Linked DNA regions of Homo sapiens: region 1 is linked to region 2. The links are contacts of gene promoters, found by promoter capture Hi-C in human tissues and cell types (Jung and others, 2019). All regions are on one chromosome and are shown on one strand. Each heading gives the region's core, a stretch centred on a gene start or on the middle of the fragment in contact. The rest is flanking DNA. Distances are from core to core; before and after follow the strand shown.

Region 1 (4,871 bases), core at 319-2,818, 260 kb after region 2:
AAAAAAACAGGTAAGTTGGATTTATTAAAATCAATAAATTTTGTGCATCAAAGAACATGATCAACAGCGTGAAGAGACACTCTTCCCCCATGGAATAGAGGAAAATAGGCAAATCATATATCTGATAGGAGATTAATATCCATAAAATATTAAAAAAAAAACTCTTACAACTCAATGACAAAAACAACCCAATTAAAAAACGGACAAAGGATTTGAGTAGACGTTTCTCCAAAGATTATACAGATGGCTAATAAGCACATCAACAGATGTTCAGCATCACTCATCATTAGAGAATTGCAAGTCAAAACCACAATTACACAAAGTCATTAGAATAGCTATTATCAAAAATAAAAACAAAACAAACAAGTATTAGCAAGGATATGGAGAAATTAGAACCCTTGTGCATTGCTGCTCAGAATGCAAAATGGTGCAGTGCTATGGAAAACAGTATGGCAGGCCCTCAAAAAATTAAACAGAATTATCCTATGATCCAGCAAATCTACTTCTGAACATACGCCCAAAGGATTGAAAGCAGGAACTCCAGCAGGTATTTGTACATCAATGTTCATAGCAGTGTTTTATTCACAGTAGGCAAAAGGCAGAAACAACCCAAATGTCCATTGATGGATGAATGGATAAACAAACTGTGGTGGGCATATGCATGGGGTATTACTCAGCCTTAAATGACAATGAGATTCTGATACATGCTACCTCCTGGATGAACCTAAAGATACTACGCTAAGTGAAATAAGCCAGGCACAATTGAACAAGCATTACATGATTCCATTATATGCGGGGCTGGAGGAAAGGAAGAGTGGAAAACTGTTGTTTAATAGGTATGGAGTTCAGTGTGGGAGGATGAAATGGTTCTGCAGGTGGATGGTGGCGATGTTTGCTCAACCATGTATATATATTTAATGCCACCAATCTGTACACTTAAAATGGTTAAAAATGTCAAATTTTATGTTACATTTCTTTTACCACAATTTAAAAAAATTTCCTGAGAAATCCAAATGACAAAAGTGATCAGCCTGGGGAAAATGTAAATGGATGGCTCCCTGGGGGAGCAGAGTCTTCAGGGAAGTCATGACCGCAGAGGGAAGACCTAGGGATGCTTGTCAAAGGCTCACACACAGCTCTGCATCAGCTTGTGTGTGGACAGCGTAGGGAGGCCTGGTCTGGCAAGGGCAGCAGGTGTTGGGGCTCTGGGTGAATGACGCTGGGTGAACATGGGGTGGTGGCAAGGAGTCTGCAGGAAGAGAAGGGCCGGCTGGTGGGGCTGGGTCAGAGCCCAGACAGGTCAATGGGAAGGGCTGTGTGCTGGAAGAGGGACTGGTGCTGCTGTGTTATCAGAACAATCTGGGAGAGAGACAGCAAGGGAGGAAGTCTGGGTGAATGGCTAGGACCTGTGGCAGCAGCCCAGGCCTGAGGTATCAGGGCAGGGGGTGGTAACAGTGGGGACGGGAGGCCCTGGCAAGCCTTAGCAGTCAGGCATGATTCCCATATTGTCTTCCTGGTCACCAGTGGATGCCCGGATCCTGTGCCTTGGGAAGGTCAGGGTTGAAACACCACCACCCTCTTCTTTTTGCAACTTTTCTGTTCTTCTTGTGGGCTCCTTTTGAGTTAGGTGTGTACAAGGAATAGACTTTAGGGTTTATCTGGGGAGTTTCTTCAAGTGGTTCTCTCATATAGTAAATGAGAAAGTTGGGTTAGATGACAGCTACAGCTCTTTCCTGCTTTTAAACACTGTGATTCATTTACTTGATTGATAATTGCTCAGTTCTTTCCATGTGCCAGGCACTGCGTGAGCCCATAGCTCGTACAACCGTGACCAAGAGGGCAAGCATCTGCTCTCATGTGGCTGCCTCTCCTGCCTTTGTGCCATTCCTGTTAAATGAACTCGTGTGTGCCATGGTGCCCGGCTCATACCTGGAGAGAGTAGTTGCTACACATGGTACCTATTGTGCTCACTGCTTCTCCTGGCTCTAGGTCCCACATCAACTCATCCTTCATCACATTGTCACTTCTCATGTGTGCTGTTTGCCCACACACCTTTCCTTTCTCTTTTCAGTTGTTATAATGCTAAGTCCAGATTACCAGCAGACACCACCACAGCATAGCCGTGAGCTCACCAGGCTTGAAGCAGGCCTAGCATTGCTTAGCAACTGTGAAAATAGCTTCAGCAGGCCCCACGGGACGCTCGAGAACCTCATCTCTGGGGTGTGTGGGAACGGAAGAGCTTCAGTTGAAATAAAGATGCAAACAAACCGAATTGGTCCCCAGACATCACGCTTCACATTGCCTGACACTCAGCGGAATGAGATACTTGTGTCCCACTCTCTCAAGCACCAAGTAAGCAGTCAGGGCTGGAGAATCTGCAAGCTGTCTCTTAGGGATACACACATAGCTTCACACACAGACAAACAACGATGTGCAAATCCAGCTGCACATGCATACCCGGTTCGGGCTGACTTCCTATTCCATCAGTCTGCATGGAGTCAGGTTGCTGTTTGCATGTCAGAGCCCATGGGTCATCGTGAGTGTTTGGATTAGTGAATGAGGACAAAAGTGGCTTCTGTCAGAGATGTTATGCAATTACATGTGATGGATGCTCGCTTCCCTCCCTGGTTCTTCTCCACTGCGCAAACTTTGTAATAGGTGGGAAGGTTCAAAACCCTTAAAGGCCAAATGCCACACCAAGTGGGGAGGTAGGGTGGGTGTTAAGGAACTAATTTCTCTCTCTGCACCAACTGGTGCTTCTGGTTTGCTTCTGGAGATGCCTTAGGTGCTCAGTCCCTGTAAAAGGAATGATTTTAAGGTGATGGAAAGAGACGTTTCAGCAGGAGAGCTATGCTGAGGAATTTTCTGCTATATCAAGAGTAGAAACAGGGCTGAGTGAGTGATTCGGTGACCTCATGAGGGTTGCCGCCCCCTGAGGCCCCCAGCTGTGGAAGATGATATGATCAGGAGAATGGCACGTTGCACTGACTTCCGGGTCTATAGAGGTCCAGTCTCCACCTCTGATTGTTGATTTGTCACAGCAGGGAAGAGTGAGGTTGGCTGGGCTCACATCTTGCAGAATGGCATTGCAGGCCCTGGGTCAAGTGGCTTGGGACTGAATTTTGGTTCTACCACTTAGTGGCTGTGTGGCTAAGGCAAGCCTTCGTATGTAAAATGAGACTAATGATAGCTCACAGGGGAGGCGAGAGACATTTTGGGGCTGTATGCATATGGTTAAAAGCCCGGACTCTAGCCAGCAATGACTTCTGTCACTATAACTTATACCCAACATGGTGTAAGTTTCTCATGCCCCTGGACTCTACAGCCAGCTCACCTCGAGTGCTTCTACCTGGCCAGGTGTCACTGGCTCTCCTGTTGCTCGACCTTGATGGCTTTACTGCTGCTTGATCACATCCTGTCTTTGGGCAGGTTCTTTAATTCCCCCTCCTTGCTCCTCTTGGCTTCCTTCACACCTCCTTGCCTCAATTCTCTTGGCATCAAGTTACCTCTATTTTCCTGAGCTTGTAGTTGACTCCTAGCTCATTAGAAAATTATCTATGTAGAACTCTTTAAGATAACTTAATATTGCAAGGTTTAAAAAAATATTGACCCAATTCATATGAGCTTAGACTTAGTGCTTCTACTTCTCCAATCATTTATCTTAGTCTTGCGGCTGGACTAGAGCCAGGATGCTTTGCTTCCAATCTTCTGACATTTTCCTCCTATGGAACTGAGGTGAGAATTAGGGTGACCCTGAATGTGTTGTGAGCCAGAGCTAACCCAGGATAAGTCTGGAATGAAACAGGGTCTGTAGAAATGGCTGTCTCCACATTCTTACCTTTAATTCACTCTGTATTTCACTCCAATTTGGCTTCCACTGTCACCAGTTTACTGAAATAGTTTTTGCTATAGGCAATAATTATGTTGCCTTCCCCTATGAACATTATTTGTCTTTTTTCTATTCTATTTTTAAAGTCAACTTATAGCTATTCAAAGTAGAAGGTATATTTAATTATTCAAAATCTTTGTGGCTGATACAAGCATTAGAAAAAGAATGCATAGTTAATAATTGTGAGTATGGGCAGTTTCACAGATTAATTTACTTTCTGGAAATCTAGAATCTCTAGAATGTATTAAAGTTATAAAGAGGTTGGATTAACTCATTTTATTTTGGTAAGAACACTTAACATGAGATCTTTCCACTTGAAAAGTTTTATGTGCACAATACAGTATTGTTAACTAAGGACAATATTGCACAACAGATCTGTAGAACTTATGCATCTTGCATAATGAAACTTTATACCCATTGAACAGCAATTTCTATTTTGGCTAAATGTAACCACATTAAAATACTTGATATTGTCTTTGGTCATGAAGCATAAATGTATAATGGTAGATGTATTTTAATCCTAATTCAGGAATGATATTTAAACAAAACTCTCACTCAGTAAGATATACATGACTACATTAGGAAAATCACATTCTAAGTTTTATAGAACACTCTCAGGTGATGTTAACAGATCAAAAAATAAGGAGAACCAATGCTGTCTTATACATATTTAAGCTGGGAAGTTTCTCAAGTAGTAGAGTCATATTCAGGAAGTAATATTTAAAATATAAACTCTTAATTGCAGTCGCTTCTCTGTTAAGTCCATCTCTTTCAGATTCTTCGGTTAACAGCAATACTCTAAAAATCAACTGTAAAATCTTAGCTTGCAATGTTTTGATTTTTTCCTGAATTTTGAAACTTTTAAAGTGCTATTACATGTCTTATAAATGAAATAAATTAAACATATTCTCAGGAGACTACAACTCAGGAGCAGCTGGATGAGATGGAAGAGATCCCCAGAGAGAGCCAGTGTGGGAGGCAG
Region 2 (4,335 bases), core at 1,835-4,334:
ATGGGCTCTAAATCACTGTACTATGTTCCCTTCCATAGGCCTCAATCAGTCATGTAATATTTGACCTGGTCGTTATCTTAGGTATTATCTAGACCACAGATTTTGGATGCAGTTCTCTGGCTGAAGACCTCTGAGCTAGGATAACCCCTTCTCTTTTGACAGACGAGTCAGAGAATCAGATCAGTGATAGAAGTGGAGTGCCAATCCTGAGTATCACCTCTACTCAAGTGCTCAACATATCCCTAGATCCTCAATTCCCTGGCAAAAGTGATTGGATGGAACCACAGGCTTCCAAGAGGGGACAGTCAAGCATTAAATACGAGAATGCACATATAACTCTTGGTGCAATGTTTAGCACATACTAAGCCTGCAATACATGCTAATCCCTTTGAGCAAATCCACATGGCCAGTTTCTGTGCTCAGGGGTGAGAATAGCTGGGCTGTGATTGGGGCAGGGGGAGCACTAAGTGGGAGGGACTTCCTGTCTCAGGTCCCTGCCATCTTGACTGACATGCTGCAGCCCTTGCCAAAACCCATGGGTCAGAATGAAAGTAAAGTGCCGTTGAAAACCTTGCAATCCACCTTTAAAACTGCCGGGTGTAGTAAAACAATTGCTTGCCCCAAATAAATGACTTATCATTGCTGTTGGTTGTCTGCGTTTCTCTTTAATTATAGGCCCTCTTTGAACGCTCAAACACACAGGGCCTTTGTAAGCTTGAACTCCCTGTCTCACACACAGTCCTCCCATACCCATACACTCTCTTTCATTTGCAGAGTATAAACACCCATCTCTCACTCATTCACATAATGAATTTCAGCTCCTTGTGTCCCAATCAAGGAGAGGCCTCACTGGAATTATGGGCATCTGAGCCATCTTCATGTTCCAAGGCCCCAGGGGGCGCTTCCAAGAGTGGATCCTTTATGGGGAGAAGATAATGGGCAAAAAGTGCTCTTCACTGATGGACCAGTCCCAGCCTTTTCTCTCCTTGGACAATAGAGTTCTTCCCTTGAACAGCCACTTCCCTAAAAAAAATTCCAAAATTCTCCCACATCATCCCCTTTATGCTTAAAATCATCACACACTCCCTTCTTTGTCCTCCCCTCTTGCAAACTCAACTCAGAGCCCTTTGGCTCCAGAAAGATTTTCTAGGTATCAGGAGAGAGTAGCAAAGCCTCCCTCCTCTCCTTGCCTTTCTCCCTTGTCAGAGAAAGAAGTTGATTCTGCGGAGAGGTAAGAAGGATCTTGAGGTCTAGAGCCTGAAAAACTCCTTGGGCTGTTCTCCAAACTAGATGGGAACATAAGGTGCGATTGCATCTTCTCCAGCTGATACTCACTCGGCCTCCTATGCCAGTCCCCAGTCCAGGGTTTGGTCAAGGGTCAAATGAGATAATTTCATGGAGGAAGCCTGGCCCGATTTTTCTACTGTTTGCTGGAAGACAGCCTCTTCCTCTTGTAACTGCAGCCCCAGAACCTGATCTCCACATCCCTGCCAGGCAGGTAGCTGTGTACAAGGGCTCATCTTCCTGCCCCCAACCCCAGCTCTGATTTGCTTATTCAGGTGGTGTAAATACTTCTACCAGGACCTATTTCAAGCCATTGTGATGTCCCTGACTGGGGAGATGCAGGGCAGCACACCATTTAATATTTCCCTCACATTTCCACCCCATTCTGCACTCTTTTCTGGGAGTTGCTGTCTCAGAGGGTTGGCGGTTCTGGTGGCTCAAGACCATAAGTAATTATCAAATACTTAGGAAGCGACGGGTTTTGAGTATTTATTACCTTTTAAAAATGTACTTTGTGGCTAGGCATGGTGGCTCACGCCTGTAGTCCCCGCACCGGGAGGCCGAGGTGGGTGGATTGCTTGAGCTCAGGAGTTCAAGACCAGCCTGGGCAACACGGCGAAACCCAGTCTCTACCAAAAATACACACACACACACACACACACACACACACACACACACACACACACAAATTGGCCTAGCGTGGTGTCGTGTGTCTGTGGTCGCAGTTACTCAGGAGACCAAGGTAGGAGGTAGGAAACCAAGGTAGGAGGATCACCCGAGGTCGGTAGTTCGAGACCAGCCTGACCAACATGGAGAAACCCTGTCTTTACTAAAAATACAAAATTAGCTGGGCGTGGTGGTGCATGCCTGTAATTCCAGCTACTTGGGAGGCTGAGACAGGAGAATGGCTTGAACCCGGAAGGCGGAGTTTGCGGTGAGCTGAGATCGCGTCATTGCACTCCAGCCTGGGCAACAAGAGCAAAACTCCGTCTCAAAAAAAAAAAAATATATATATATATGTGTGTGTGTGTGTGTGTGTGTGTATGTATATATATATATGTATGTGTATATATATGTATGTGTGTGTGTGTGCATATATATATATACACTTTGTTTAATTGTAAGTGTGTTTAGTTTAATTTTTAATAATGTCCGTGATTAACAGCTGGCTGGCAAGATTCCTGAGAACTGAAGAGTTTGCCCCAGCCCATCCAGCACACCATGGGCCCAGGGCAGACCTTGGGGCTAGGCGGTCTTGGGTTCCAGAGGGCTCCCATGCCCCTGTCCTATTGCTCTTCTGGCAATAGGACATTTACGCGGGGGGGGGGGTGGTTCTTGATTCTGGGTCTTTTAGGGGACTCTGTGATTAAGAAACAGCAGGGATGTTGCAACAGCAGGGATGAGGTGGGCCTGGGGACGGGTCAGTGAAGGGTCTTCATTCCTAGCTGCTGACCTGATCTGCCCTGAGATAAAAGACTAAGACCCAGAGAGTGAACGCTGTCCGCGGGGGCAGAAGCGAGTGAGGCGTCGGGACAGTGGGGCATAACCAAGAGCAAAACGCAAACTGAGACTTCAGCGCCGGTTTCTCGGGCCAGCCCACGCCTCCTGCCTCAGCTCAATGCCACTCCCTCCCCGCCAAGTGGCTCTCCGCTCTGGAGGCGGGACCGAGTTCTCCGGTGGCCCCTGGAGGCTCCGGCAGCGAGCTCTGGGAGGCTGGGAGGGGAGTGAGGGGAGGGGCGCTGACTGGGCCGTCCAAAGAGGAGGGGGCCTTTAATAGGCTCGCCCAGCGCCTGGCTTGCTGCGCTGCGAGTGGCTGCGGTTGCGAGAAGCCGCCCGGCACCTTCCGCTAGTTCTCGGCTGCAAATCTTCGTCCTTGCACTTGACAGCGATTGTACTTAAGCTCCCAGGGCGCGCTTTGCTTGGAAAGGCACAGGTAGGAAGCGCGGGCTGCCGGGTGCACGCTCGCCGCCCTGGGAGGAGTCTCCCTCCCTTGGCTCTCCTTTCTGGGAACTGCCGGCTGTCCCGTAGCGTTGGCGGTTCCAGAGTGCGGGCTGCACGGAGACCGCGGCAGCGGCCGGAGAGCCCGGCCCAGCCCCTTCCCACAGCGCGGCGGTGCGCTGCCCGGCGCCATGCTTCTGCTGGGCATCCTAACCCTGGCTTTCGCCGGGCGAACCGCTGGAGGCTCTGAGCCAGAGCGGGAGGTAGTCGTTCCCATCCGACTGGACCCGGACATTAACGGCCGCCGCTACTACTGGCGGGGTCCCGAGGACTCCGGGGATCAGGGACTCATTTTTCAGATCACAGCATTTCAGGAGGACTTTTACCTACACCTGACGCCGGATGCTCAGTTCTTGGCTCCCGCCTTCTCCACTGAGCATCTGGGCGTCCCCCTCCAGGGGCTCACCGGGGGCTCTTCAGACCTGCGACGCTGCTTCTATTCTGGGGACGTGAACGCCGAGCCGGACTCGTTCGCTGCTGTGAGCCTGTGCGGGGGGCTCCGCGGAGCCTTTGGCTACCGAGGCGCCGAGTATGTCATTAGCCCGCTGCCCAATGCTAGCGCGCCGGCGGCGCAGCGCAACAGCCAGGGCGCACACCTTCTCCAGCGCCGGGGTGTTCCGGGCGGGCCTTCCGGAGACCCCACCTCTCGCTGCGGGGTGGCCTCGGGCTGGAACCCCGCCATCCTACGGGCCCTGGACCCTTACAAGCCGCGGCGGGCGGGCTTCGGGGAGAGTCGTAGCCGGCGCAGGTCTGGGCGCGCCAAGCGTTTCGTGTCTATCCCGCGGTACGTGGAGACGCTGGTGGTCGCGGACGAGTCAATGGTCAAGTTCCACGGCGCGGACCTGGAACATTATCTGCTGACGCTGCTGGCAACGGCGGCGCGACTCTACCGCCATCCCAGCATCCTCAACCCCATCAACATCGTTGTGGTCAAGGTGCTGCTTCTTAGAGATCGTGACTCCGGGCCCAAGGTCACCGGCAATGCGGCCCTGACGCTGCGCAACTTCTGTGCCTGGCAGAAGAAGCTGAACAAAGTGAGTGACAAGCACCCCG

Evidence for each region. Contacts are between HindIII fragments. The study calls those that stand out against the background at their distance.
Region 1: a contact is called between a fragment that was not itself captured here and the fragment with the promoter of ADAMTS15 in region 2, in 1 of the 25 tissues and cell types used here (IMR-90 fibroblasts).

The regions. Positions count from the first base shown.
Region 1 is chr11:130,708,392-130,713,262 of GRCh38, forward strand. LINC02873 (long intergenic non-protein coding RNA 2873) reads left to right here. Exons shown (of 3, transcript NR_164144.1): 2 at 4,803-4,871. Among named protein-coding and RNA genes, the nearest start is that of LINC02873, 38 kb to the left of the region's middle. The HindIII fragment of the contact is 9,577 bases long and covers 1-4,871 here.
Region 2 is chr11:130,445,561-130,449,895 of GRCh38, forward strand. It overlaps ADAMTS15 (ADAM metallopeptidase with thrombospondin type 1 motif 15), which reads left to right and starts at 3,085. Exons shown (of 8, transcript NM_139055.4): 1 at 3,085-4,335. The coding sequence starts at 3,414. The HindIII fragment of the contact is 14,209 bases long and covers 1-4,335 here.